Regions from separate parts of the Homo sapiens genome. Here region 2 is linked to region 1. Evidence: promoter capture Hi-C in human tissues and cell types (Jung and others, 2019). All regions are on one chromosome and are shown on one strand. Each heading gives the region's core, a stretch centred on a gene start or on the middle of the fragment in contact. The rest is flanking DNA. Distances are from core to core; before and after follow the strand shown. Region 1 holds the start of RASD2 (RASD family member 2). Region 2 holds the start of TXN2 (thioredoxin 2).

What was found. The method cuts DNA at HindIII sites, captures the fragments that hold promoters and counts their contacts. A contact is called where the count stands out against the background at its distance.
Region 2: the fragment with the promoter of TXN2 here is called in contact with the fragment with the promoter of RASD2 in region 1 in 3 of the 25 tissues and cell types used here (aorta, dorsolateral prefrontal cortex and stomach).

Annotation. Positions count from the first base shown.
Region 1 is chr22:35,538,272-35,543,673 of GRCh38, reverse strand. RASD2 (RASD family member 2) reads right to left here and starts at 2,843. Exons shown (of 3, transcript NM_014310.4): 1 at 2,174-2,843. RefSeq lists enhancers at 2,493-3,055, 3,056-3,618, 3,619-4,181 and a silencer at 3,152-3,371. The HindIII fragment of the contact is 17,894 bases long and covers 1-5,402 here.
Region 2 is chr22:36,479,633-36,485,034 of GRCh38, reverse strand. It overlaps TXN2 (thioredoxin 2), which reads left to right and starts at 3,395. Exons shown (of 4, transcript NM_012473.4): 1 at 3,395-3,471; 2 at 4,198-4,460. The coding sequence starts at 4,198. RefSeq lists an enhancer at 2,019-2,965. The HindIII fragment of the contact is 22,621 bases long and covers 1-5,402 here.

The sequences.
Region 1 (5,402 bases), core at 1,594-4,093:
CGTGGGGCTGTGTGAGACATCTGGACACCTGGACGCCAGGGGACAGTGCCTCTGTGGGCTCCGCCTCCTGCCTCCACATCTTTCTTCCCTCTCTTCCCCCAGAGGTGGCACCATGGGCACCCTCGTAGGCACATCTCTCCTCTGCAGCCTGTTCTCCCTTCTCCATCCTCAGCCAGGCTGACCTCATACAGCGAGGAGCAGACAGGGATGAGTTTGAAGAGCCCTTTGGGAATTTAGAGTCCAATATCAGTGACTGAATGGATTTCAGGAAGTCAGAGAGAGGAGGCAGGGAATCAGAGAGGGGAAGTAAGGAATCAGAGAGAGGAGGCTCAGAGAGGCAGGAAATTCAACGGAGACCCCCTAGCGGCACAGGTATCTGAATGCACATACTGTGACTACTGACCCCATCACAGGGCCATTCTGAGGACAGGTGGAAGCCAGAAAGTTCCCAGAGCAGAGATGAGGGGACGCCATCCTGGGGGCACAGTAACCACAGCCAGGAAGGCATCCATCAGCCCACTTGACTGATGGGGACACTGATGCTCAGAGAGGTTAAGTCACTTGCCCCAGTTCACACAGCAGATGACTAGCTGGGCTGGGATCAGAACCAGGCTGTTTGGCTTCAAAGTCTGGGCTCTTAACTCTATGAAAACCCACCCCCAGCCAAAACTGGTCTTTTCCAAAACACTGTCTGTCTCAGTGAAGCCTCAGCTGGCATCAGGCGGGGGGATGACGCCGAGACATACTATATTCTCACTCCCTCTCTCCCTGCAGGCAGCGGAGCGGAAAGGGGGCAGGCACCTCCCAGGATTCTCCCCTAACCCTGCCAGCCACCTCTGAGCAAGTGCACCTGTGGATTCACCACTTCTCCCTTGAGCCTCTCTCCCAGGGCCTGCCTGAAAGATGAAGGGGTCACACGGGCACAGGCAGCAGGACAAGAGTCTGGACGTGTCCTCCCGGTGTATGCCCCAGAGCCTGTTTCACTGCACTGCCCCTCCTCCACACCCCCATGCCTCCTCCATCAGTGCACACTCAGCCTCTTTGGACACGCACATTGCCATCACTGGCTTCCAGCTGCCACTCTGAGAGTCCGGGAGCTTGGCAAAGCCAACCCCACCACCCTTGGCAGCTCAGGTGGTAGAAGGTAGGCAGGCATCCACTTCTGGCAGGCCAACTCTGCCTCTCACCAGCCCGGCAGCCCTGGGCAAATGACTTGGCTTCCTGGGGCTCAGGTTATTCCTCTGTTAATGGTAAGACATAAACCCCCTGTGTGGCCCTGGGTTTCCAATAAGTCTGGAGGCTGACCCAGCTCTTGACCCGCAGCAAACCTGAACACATGCTGGGTTCTTTTCTTCGTGGCACTTTATCTTGGCAGTCGTGGGGCTGCCTAGAGCAGCCTGGTGAGGCTGGACTGGAATGCAGGCGCAGGTCTTGCAGGGACCCCATCTTGTCTCTGACACCACAGGAGGCTTGATTCACTGGCTCCTGACCTGGCTGCTCCCTCCCAGCCTGGCTTCCCACCTTCCATGAGGTCTTGGACAACATCCCCTGTCATCCTCCTGGTGCTGGGGACAAGGGGAGGGGAGGGCACAGAGAGGCCTCCAGAGCTGCCTTCCGGGCCCTCCAAGACAGCTAAGTTACAGGAAACCCCTCCTGGGAAGGGAATCATCCAGGAAACTCACTCTGCACCAACCCAGAAAAAGCTCAAGAACTCTGGATAACGAAGGAGCTTCTTAATCTTCCTTCCCCACCTCCAGGTAATGCAGGCTGCAGCCAGCTCCAGAAGAGGGACAGGAGTGTTTGTGGTAGTTGACTCGTCTTCCCTGAGCCCCCGTTTCCTCCTATTTAAATGGGCTATTACTCTAGCTCTTTAAATGCAAAGCCTGTGGCACCAAAACTAGCACATAGTAGAAGCTCAATAAATCTTTCTTTCCTGGGATTAAGTCAAGGGTATAGCACTCAGTTTGACACATACAGTAGGTGCTCAACGAATTTAATTCTCTCTAGGTATGCAAAGTTGCCAGACGATCCCGGCACATAGTAGGTGCTCAATCAATTTCACTTTCTCTGGTCATCTAAGGAATCACTGAGCTTTCCTCCTCCAAGCCTCTACCCTTTCTTCCCGGCTGCTCCACTTCCCCCAGATGCCCAGCTCTGTTGGGGCGTCTCCTACCTGGGAATGGCGGGCCGGGCCTCTGGCACGGCTCAGAGAGCTGCCTGGAAGCGCCGGGAGCTGCGGGGAGCTGCCTGCTGCTCCAGCCGCCGAGCCTCCCAGAGTCTGTGGTGGCTCCCGGGTCACTGCGCGGGGATCCTCCCCTGCGCTGCTCGGGACGCCGGGCTGGGCGCGGCCGGGCAAGGAGGCGCAAGGGGCAGGTGCCCCATGGGTGGGCTCCGAGGGCTCGGCGGGGCCCGGGCAGGGGGCGGGCTCCGGCTCGCCGCCGCCGGCCCTGCCCTGCCCCGAGCCGGGGGCCTCCTGCTGAGCCAGGTGCCCGGAGGCTTGGGGACGTCCGATCCGGGGGTCCCCGCCTGGGGCTCTCGGGCTGGGGGCAGAGAGGTAGGGGCGACTCCAGTGATGAAGGAGCAGCTCCTAGAGACTTGGGGAGGGGGGGTCCTTTGGAGGTGACTGTGGGTGCGTGTCCCAGGTGGGCGAACCCTCCTGGTCGCCTATGCCACCTTCTCCGCCTGCCCCAAAGGGGGTCGCTCGGATGGGGGGTATCGGGCTGCCGGGCTCGGCCGCGGCCTCCTTCTCTGCCCGCGGCTCTGCAGCTCTCCCAGCGCCGGAGGGACGGCTTCTTTCTCCCCGCGCGGCGACGCCAGCAGCTGAAGGAGGAGCAGGGCGCTCTGCTCTGCGCGCGTGTGGGAGGGGGCCTTGAACGCCGCCCCAAGGTTTCGCAGCTCCAAGTTAGCATCAACCCGGCTCCTCCTCCTTCACCTCCTCCTGTCCCCAGATGAGGAGAACTTTGTGTGTGGCCCTGGGTTCTCCCTCCTTCCCCCTCTCGCAGGCAGATGCCCCACTGTCACCCGCAGGGCGAAGAGGTCGCTGATCCCTCCGAAAGGTGGCAGAACCCCAGGCTCCTGATGACGGTCCCAGCGGCACCCTCCCGCGCCCCTGCGAGCGTCGCCCACCTGCTCCTTCGGCCCCCCGCGAGCCGCGCCTCCCGCCGCCCAGCGCCAGCGTCTGCCCCCCAGAGCCCGCTCGCCCCGCCCCACCCCGGCGCCCCGCCTCGCCCCGGCGCCCGGCCAATGGGAGGCGGGTCCCGCGGCCCGGCCCCGCCCATCCCTTTCGCGGCCTCCGGGGCGCCGCGGTCTGCGGTTCCGCGTGTCCGGGCGCGTGGGGCCGGGGCCGCTGGGCGCGCGCACCTTGCCCAGAAGGCGGCCCGGGCCTCGGAGGCTGACGTCTGCGCACGCGCTCACACGCACGCCCGGCCTGGCCGCAGGTGACCCGCATGGGGTCCGGCCGCCTGCCCACTCGGCCGGGGTCTCCAGCGGCTTGCGCCCGGCCAGGTCGAGCGCGCCACGGTTCCAGCGCCCTCCTCCTTCGCGGAAGTCCCCGGGTGCCCTCCCAGGTGTCCAACCTGCCTGTCCCAGCCGCCGCCTCCCTCCCGAGCTCACGGTGCCCACGGGACCCTGCGGACTGGCACATGGGCCATGCACGTGTCGCCCAGAGGGGCGGGGAGTCACCTAGGCTTAGTAGCCAGAGGTCTTCGAGGCATGCGAGTCTCAGAGACCACGGCCGACGGGGACACACCAGGTGCCTTGAGCATTGCGTCTCCTGCCTGCATTCTCCCTCCCCACCTTTAAATGAGGGGCTTGACCTAGGCCAGACATCGGGCCTTCTCACTGGGCCATATCTCCACACCACTTATTACTTAATATATTTTTTAAAATATCAGATCCACTTTCCCCACCCCTTAAACACGTTTTTTTAGAGAATCATTATATCACTGCCTTAAATGGGAAATCAGTATCACTTGCCATAAATAGAAAGTAAGAGTTAAAATAAGCACAGTGAAAACAAAGCAAGGTTATTAAATTCCAGCTGGAAACCGTGGCCTGCCAAGGCTTGAGATGTGTGCCCTCAGTGAAAAAGGGAGATTGGCAAGGTTTGGAGAGGTGTTAAATACCCATTAGCACCTAACAGAGACTTTCTCCTTCACATATCAGGAGGCTTAAAAGAGAATGTTCTCGTTGTGTGATACAGCAAAGGGATGGGATGCTGTGTCTGTGTCCCTCAGTTCCAGATCCCTGGACCTCAGGGATGTCTGCCAGCCTCACCCCCAACCCAGATCTGGCCTCCCTACCTCATGAGAGGACGCAGGGGTCTGGGAGGGCACCTGAGGGGTCAGCTCCATTGGCTGAGAGACTGGCGTTCAAGTCCTGTCTCCGTAACTACCTAGATATCTGACCCTGGGCCGTCATGAAAAGTCTCTGGGTCCTGGTTGTGCCATCTCTAAAATGGGTATGATATTGATGGGTCCACAGAATGACAGAAGTACTAAAATGGCCTGGGACTTTGAATATGGAAAGTGACTTGCTTTGCTTGTCTCTGTAACATCTTGAGATTCTCCAGGAAAGTTAACCAGAGAGGATGGGGCAGGTGGGGGTGGAGGGTGCAGTACCTGTACTACCTGATTGTGTTTAATGCCCCAATTTAGGCCACAGAGGGGCTAAGGGGATGTGCCCAAAGTCACCTGGTGGCAAGTGGCAGGATTGCAGCCTGGTGCATTTTCCACATCCAGACTTTGCCTCTGGGAACTGGCTTCAGCCCGGGAGGGTTTGTGCTGGGCATGACACACACAGGCTGTGAGCCTTGAGCTGGCAGTGAACTTGGCAGTGGGAGGTGAGCAGGGTGGCACGCTTCACCTGGAAGGCTGGGGTCAGGAAGACTCAGGTCGCTGGGCCAGCTCTGCCACCTCCATCACGGAAATGTAGCAGACGGCCCAAGAACCAATTGCTCCCTGCTTCTGCAGAGTTGTTCAACAGAATGGGTCATGTCCCACTGACCATATCCCAGTCGCGAGGGGAGCTGCATGTGGAGTGAGAACCCTGGGAGGTCCACTTGCCCCAGCCTCTGTCTTCTGCTCCTGCCCTCCCCCACTCCTGGTATGGTAGGGCTCAGTCAATAAGCAAATACACATAAGGGATCAACTGATGCCCAAGGAAGCTTTGTGTAGCAACAGCACACTTCTCACATGTGCCTATTTTCCCCTTCCCCCCTCCCCACCCACTTGCTTTATCATCCCTCATCAGACCCTTTGTCATAGCTGCCCCCTTCGTCCCTGGGCTCCCTGTCACCCTCTCTCTCCCATATAACCTGTGACCATTTTAGCCCTGTTCTAAAACTGCCACCTCCTGCTCAAGAGTTTTCAAGGGCTCCCCATTGCTTAAGATATAAAATCTTG
Region 2 (5,402 bases), core at 2,146-4,645, 940 kb before region 1:
GCAGAGAGGGAGAGGCAAAGGGAGAGAAAGAGGACAAAATAAATGTTTCAGATTAAAAATAGGTCACTTCAAAAGAAAATGTCCCAAATGGGAAAAAGAACAAAAGTCATATATAAAAGCAAATCAGCTAATATTAAATTTCTGTTTATTCCAGAGGCAGGAACAAACCTATTAGAGAGATTTAATGCTAAAATTTGGCTTAGGCCTCTATATTAATCAGGGAAGATTCCTCCCCTCCCTAAACTTGCTCCCCACCACAGACAAAGAACTCATTCATCCCAAGGTATGGTCAAAAGACGAGAATCGAGGAAAGTTACAGATTACTCAGTTTCATGTTAAATTACAAACCCCTGGGGAAGTAGTAAAGAGAAAGCAATGTATCCTATTCCTTTCAAAGCCGAGGTAAATTTAAAACCTATAATTGATAATTGAAGGTCTTCTCCGTGATGGATTTCTTAAACCCTGTATGTCTCCCTATAACATTCCAATACTGCCTGTAAAGACGCCAGACAGGTCATACCGGTTAGTGCAAGACCTTAGAGCTATTTTTTTTTTTTTTTTTTTTGAGACAGAGTCTTGCTCTTTCGCCCAGGCCAGAGTGCAGTGGCACTATCTCGGCTCACTGCAAGCTCCGCCTCCCGGGTTCACGCCATTCTCCTGCCCAGCCTCCCGAGTAGCTGGGGCTACAGGCGTGTACCACCACGCTTGGCTAATTTTTGTATTTTTAGTAGAGATGGGGTTTCACCATGTTGGCCAGGCTGGTCTCGAACTCCTGACCTCAAGTGAACTGCCCGCCTTGGCCTCCCAAAGTGCTGGGATTACAGGTGTGAGCCACCACGCCTGGCACCATGTTTGTTTTTTTAAAAAGCAGATCACCACCCACTAAATTAATTTTGCAAACCCACTGACGTCCATATCCTGCAGTTTGAAAAACACTGCAATAAATATTGGTAGGAGGTAGAAGTTTTACCCTTAGCCCAGGCTGCCAGTCCTGGCTTCCTTCCCTTTGCCTCTCAGCTGTGCCCTGAGCCTGCTTGTGACTAAGCCAGACCCAGGCCAGCTCAGCTCTAGCTGGACAGAGGAGCCACCATGTAGCTGAGAGCCCTTTTGTAGCGCGCCGAGAGCTCAGCCTTCTCTGTGTCTCTCAGGCTTTCCCTGCAGGAGTCATCAGGCAGCAATGATGTGGATTCTGTCTCTACTGCAACCCTCAGCCCAGCTATGAGAAAGGCATTCTTCCCATTGCTCAGATGAGAAGCCTGAGGCCGATCAGGGTGAAGTGACTATGGCATAAGGACAAACAGGACTGGTCCGCCTGTGAAATTCAGAATGTGAATTAGGCAGGAAAATTGGCTCTCTAGAAAATACTGTGGAAGTGCTGAATAGGATTGATAGGTGGCTGTGGAAAAGAAAGTGCTAGAGACACAGAAAACCGATACAAAAATGGGCAGGGCGGCCAGGCGCGGTGGCTCACGCCTGTTATCCCAGCACTTTGGGAAGCCGAGGCGAGCGATAACTTAAGGTCAGGAGTTCGAGACCAGCCTGGCCAACATGGTGAAATATAAAATTTCTGTACCAAAAATATAAAAAATTAGCCAGGTGTGGTGGTGCTCGCCTGTAATCCCAAGTACTTGGGGGGCTGAGGCAGGAGAATCCCTTGAACCCTGGAGGTGGAGGTTGCGGTGAGCCAAGATCATGCCACTGCACTCCAGCCTAGCTACAGAGCAAGACTCCGTCTCAAAAAAAAAAAAAAAAAGGCTGGGTGCAGTGGCTCACGCCTGTAATTCCAGCACTTTGGGAGGCCCAGGTGGGCAGATCATGAGGTCAATAGATCGAGACCATCCTAGCCAACATGGTGAAACTCCGTCTCTACTAAAAATATAAAAATTAGCTAGGCGTGGTGAGGCACGCCTGTAGTCCCAGCTACTGGGGAGGCAGAGGGAGAAGAATCCCTTGAACCCAGGAGGCAGAGGTTGCAGTGAGCCGAGATCGCGCCACTGCACTCCAGCCTGGGCAACAAGAGCGAGACTCTGTCTCAAAAAAAAAAAAAAAAAAAAAAAAAACTTTGATCAACAATTTGGAAACTGCCTGTTCTTTTAAAAACGCTCTTTCAGCTGCTGCTAATCCGAGTGTATATTCAGGACAACTTGAATCTCTGCTCCGAGTTGCAGTCTTCGAACTTGACCCAAAAAAACTCCCTGCTTAAATTAGGCTCGCCTCAGTTTTCATTTGTTTTCCTTTAGGCGGACACAGACGAGGGCCACTTAAAGGATGGCCCCTAAACTCCCGGTTGAGTTCTTTTACATATAAAGGGCATCATGCCTTTGAGGAGCTTAGCTTTACATATTAAATGGAGAAACAGAACCTGTCAACATCTGTAGGAAGTGGACAGCGCCAGTTATAAACAGGAGGCCAGGCAAGGTGGCTCACGCCTGTAATCCCAGCACTTTGGGAGGCTGAAGCGGGCGGATCACTTGAGCTCAGGAGTTCCAGACCAGCCTGGCCAACATGGCGAAACTCCGTCTCTACTAAAAATACAAAAATCAGCCCGGCGTGGTGGCGCGCGCCTGTAATCCCAGCTACCTGGGAGGCTGAGGCAGGAAAATCACTTGAACCCGGGATTTGGATGTTGCAGTGAGCGGAGATCACGCCACTGCACTGTAGCCTGGGAGACAGAGCGAGACTCTGTCATTAATAAATAAATATATGTAAATAAAATAAAGCAACAAGAGTTTGCAAAATCCAAAACCACGGGGACTTCTCAACTGCCTTTTCTCCCTTAAGTACCCTCCATTGCTACCCCTGCTCCATCACCTCCTCTTCCGGTCCCTCCTCTAGGGCCCGCCCACCCCTTCCGTTTCCGCCCCGCCCCGCCCCCGCCTTCGCCCAGACCAGGGCCCGCCCGCCTCTTCCAATCCGTTCCCCGACGGCCTGCCCATTGCTTCCGGTCCGTAGCTGAGGCCCCGCCCCTTCAACTGTGCCTCAGCCCGCCATTCCCATTGGCGGAAAATCCCAGACGCCCCTCAAATTGGAGAGGGACAGATGGGCGCTGTGGCTCACGCCCGTAATCACAACCCTCTGAGAAGCCGAGGCGGGCGGATCACGAGGTCAAAAGATCGAGACCGTCCTGGCCAACGTGGTGAAACCCCGTCTCTACTAAAAATAAAAAAATTAGCTGGGCGTGGTGGCGCGCGCCTCTAGTCGGGAGGCTGAGGCAGGAGAATCGCTTGAACCCGGAAGGCGGAGGTTGCAGTGAGCCGAGATCGCGCCACTGCACCCCAGCCTGGCAACAGAGCGAGACTCTGGCTCAAAAAAAAAAAAAAAAAAAAAAAAAATTGGAGAGGGACGCTCTTCCGCCTGCCTGTACCCGGAAGTGACGTTATGTACGTCCCCCCCCGAGGAAGTGACGACAGGCGTGCCCTTGACAGGCAGGGAGGGCTAGGCTGTGCATCCCTCCGCTCGCATTGCAGGGAGGTAGGAGCCCTGTGGGGGTGGCTCGAGGTGGTGTCGCGGCTGAGGCATGCCGCGAGCGCGTTCCTGCGCAGGCTGGCGGCCGGGCGGGCGGGGGGATCTAGCTCGCCGGAGAGCCAGGGTCCCTGGTGATGTCCGATTTTTCCCAGTTCCCTCCACACATGTCCCTTCTTTATTGGTTCCCTCCAGTACATGTCTCTTCGTTTTTGGTTCCTCTCACACTCTTAGTTCCTCCTTGAATTGTTGCGTTTCATCTTTTCAGACGACCCTGGGTTCCAGTGTTGGCTGTCATTTAATAGCGGGGTTACTTTGGGCATGTCACTTAACTTACTTGAGCCTCGTATTCCTTCCCTTACTCGCAGTGTGGGCAGTACAATAGCAACTTCCTGGAAGTTGCTGTAGGAAGACCAATAATGTGTGTAAGGTACTTGGTCCTTACATACATTATTAAATCTGTTGGTTTCTTCCTCCCATTCTTCCGTTATAATCTAAATCCCGATTTCTTTTTGGTTGTGAAGCCAGTTTTCCTGTCCTTCTGGTTTGCCTAGCTGTTCCTTCCCTTTGATTCTCATTGCTTCCTCACTTCCACGCTACAAATCTTACATATGATTTCCTTGCATTTTGCTTCCAACTCTGCCTCTTCCTGAGCCCTGAGTACTCCCCAAATCTTTTTCTAGTGTGTCGACTTCCTTTTGTGTGCCCCAGTTCTTCTGCCTCTTTCCCTCACAGATGGCTCAGCGACTTCTTCTGAGGAGGTTCCTGGCCTCTGTCATCTCCAGGAAGCCCTCTCAGGGTCAGTGGCCACCCCTCACTTCCAGAGCCCTGCAGACCCCACAATGCAGTCCTGGTGGCCTGACTGTAACACCCAACCCAGCCCGGACAATATACACCACGAGGATCTCCTTGACAACCTTTAATATCCAGGATGGACCTGACTTTCAAGACCGAGTGGTCAACAGTGAGACACCAGTGGTTGTGGATTTCCACGCACAGTGAGTATTGGGGGTCCACAGAAGACTAGGGTCCTACTTGTTCAAGTATTTATTGAATGCCTGCTGTGTCCCACGGCCATGTTCTATGCTGCTCATATGTAGACTCAATATACAGACTGGTCAGGCCCAGTCCCTGCCCTCAAGGGGAATGCAGTCTGGTGGAAGACAGACAAGTGAACAGTCTGCAAAGCTGACTGTTAGTGCTGGGAAACACATGTTCTGTTTCTCAATCCCCAGAAAGCTCAGCGTCATCTTTAGCATGGACCAGAGTTGGAAAAATATGACTGTCACCTTGCTTTTGGTGTATACCAGTTCCTGGCCCTGCAGATAAGCTGATGTTAACATCCTGCCATGAAAACCGCAAGAAGGGCTGGCAAAAAGTTATCAGTGTCGGCCGGGTGCGGTGGCTCATGCCTGTAATCCCAGCACTTTGGGAGGCCAAGGCGGGCAGATCACCTGAGGTCAGGAGTTCAAGACCAGCCTGGCCAACATGGTGATACCCTGTCTCTATTAAAAATACAAAATTAGCTAGGCGTGGTGGTGTGTGCCTGTAATCCCAGCTACTCGGGAGGCTGAGGCAGGAGAATCACTTGAACCTAAGAGGTAGTGTTTGTAGTGAGCTGAAGATCGCGCCATTACACTCCAGCCTGGGCAAAAAGAGTGAAATTCCATCTCAAAAAAAAAAAAAAAAAGTTATCGGTGTCACTACCGTGGTGCCCAAGCATACAGGGCATAGGAAGGAGTTTCCTTTCAGTGCTATCTGAGTTTGCTTTAGAGATATTTAAGTCCCTCTGGCCTTCTGAATTTTAGCCTGGGCTTTTTCATTTCTAGATCTTTGGGGCCTGGCTAGACACCCAACTACACAAAAGCTGGACAAAGCCCTCTGAATGAGGCATCCTGGGAGAAACCAGTGTAGCATAAGTTAAAAATTCAGGGGCCTTC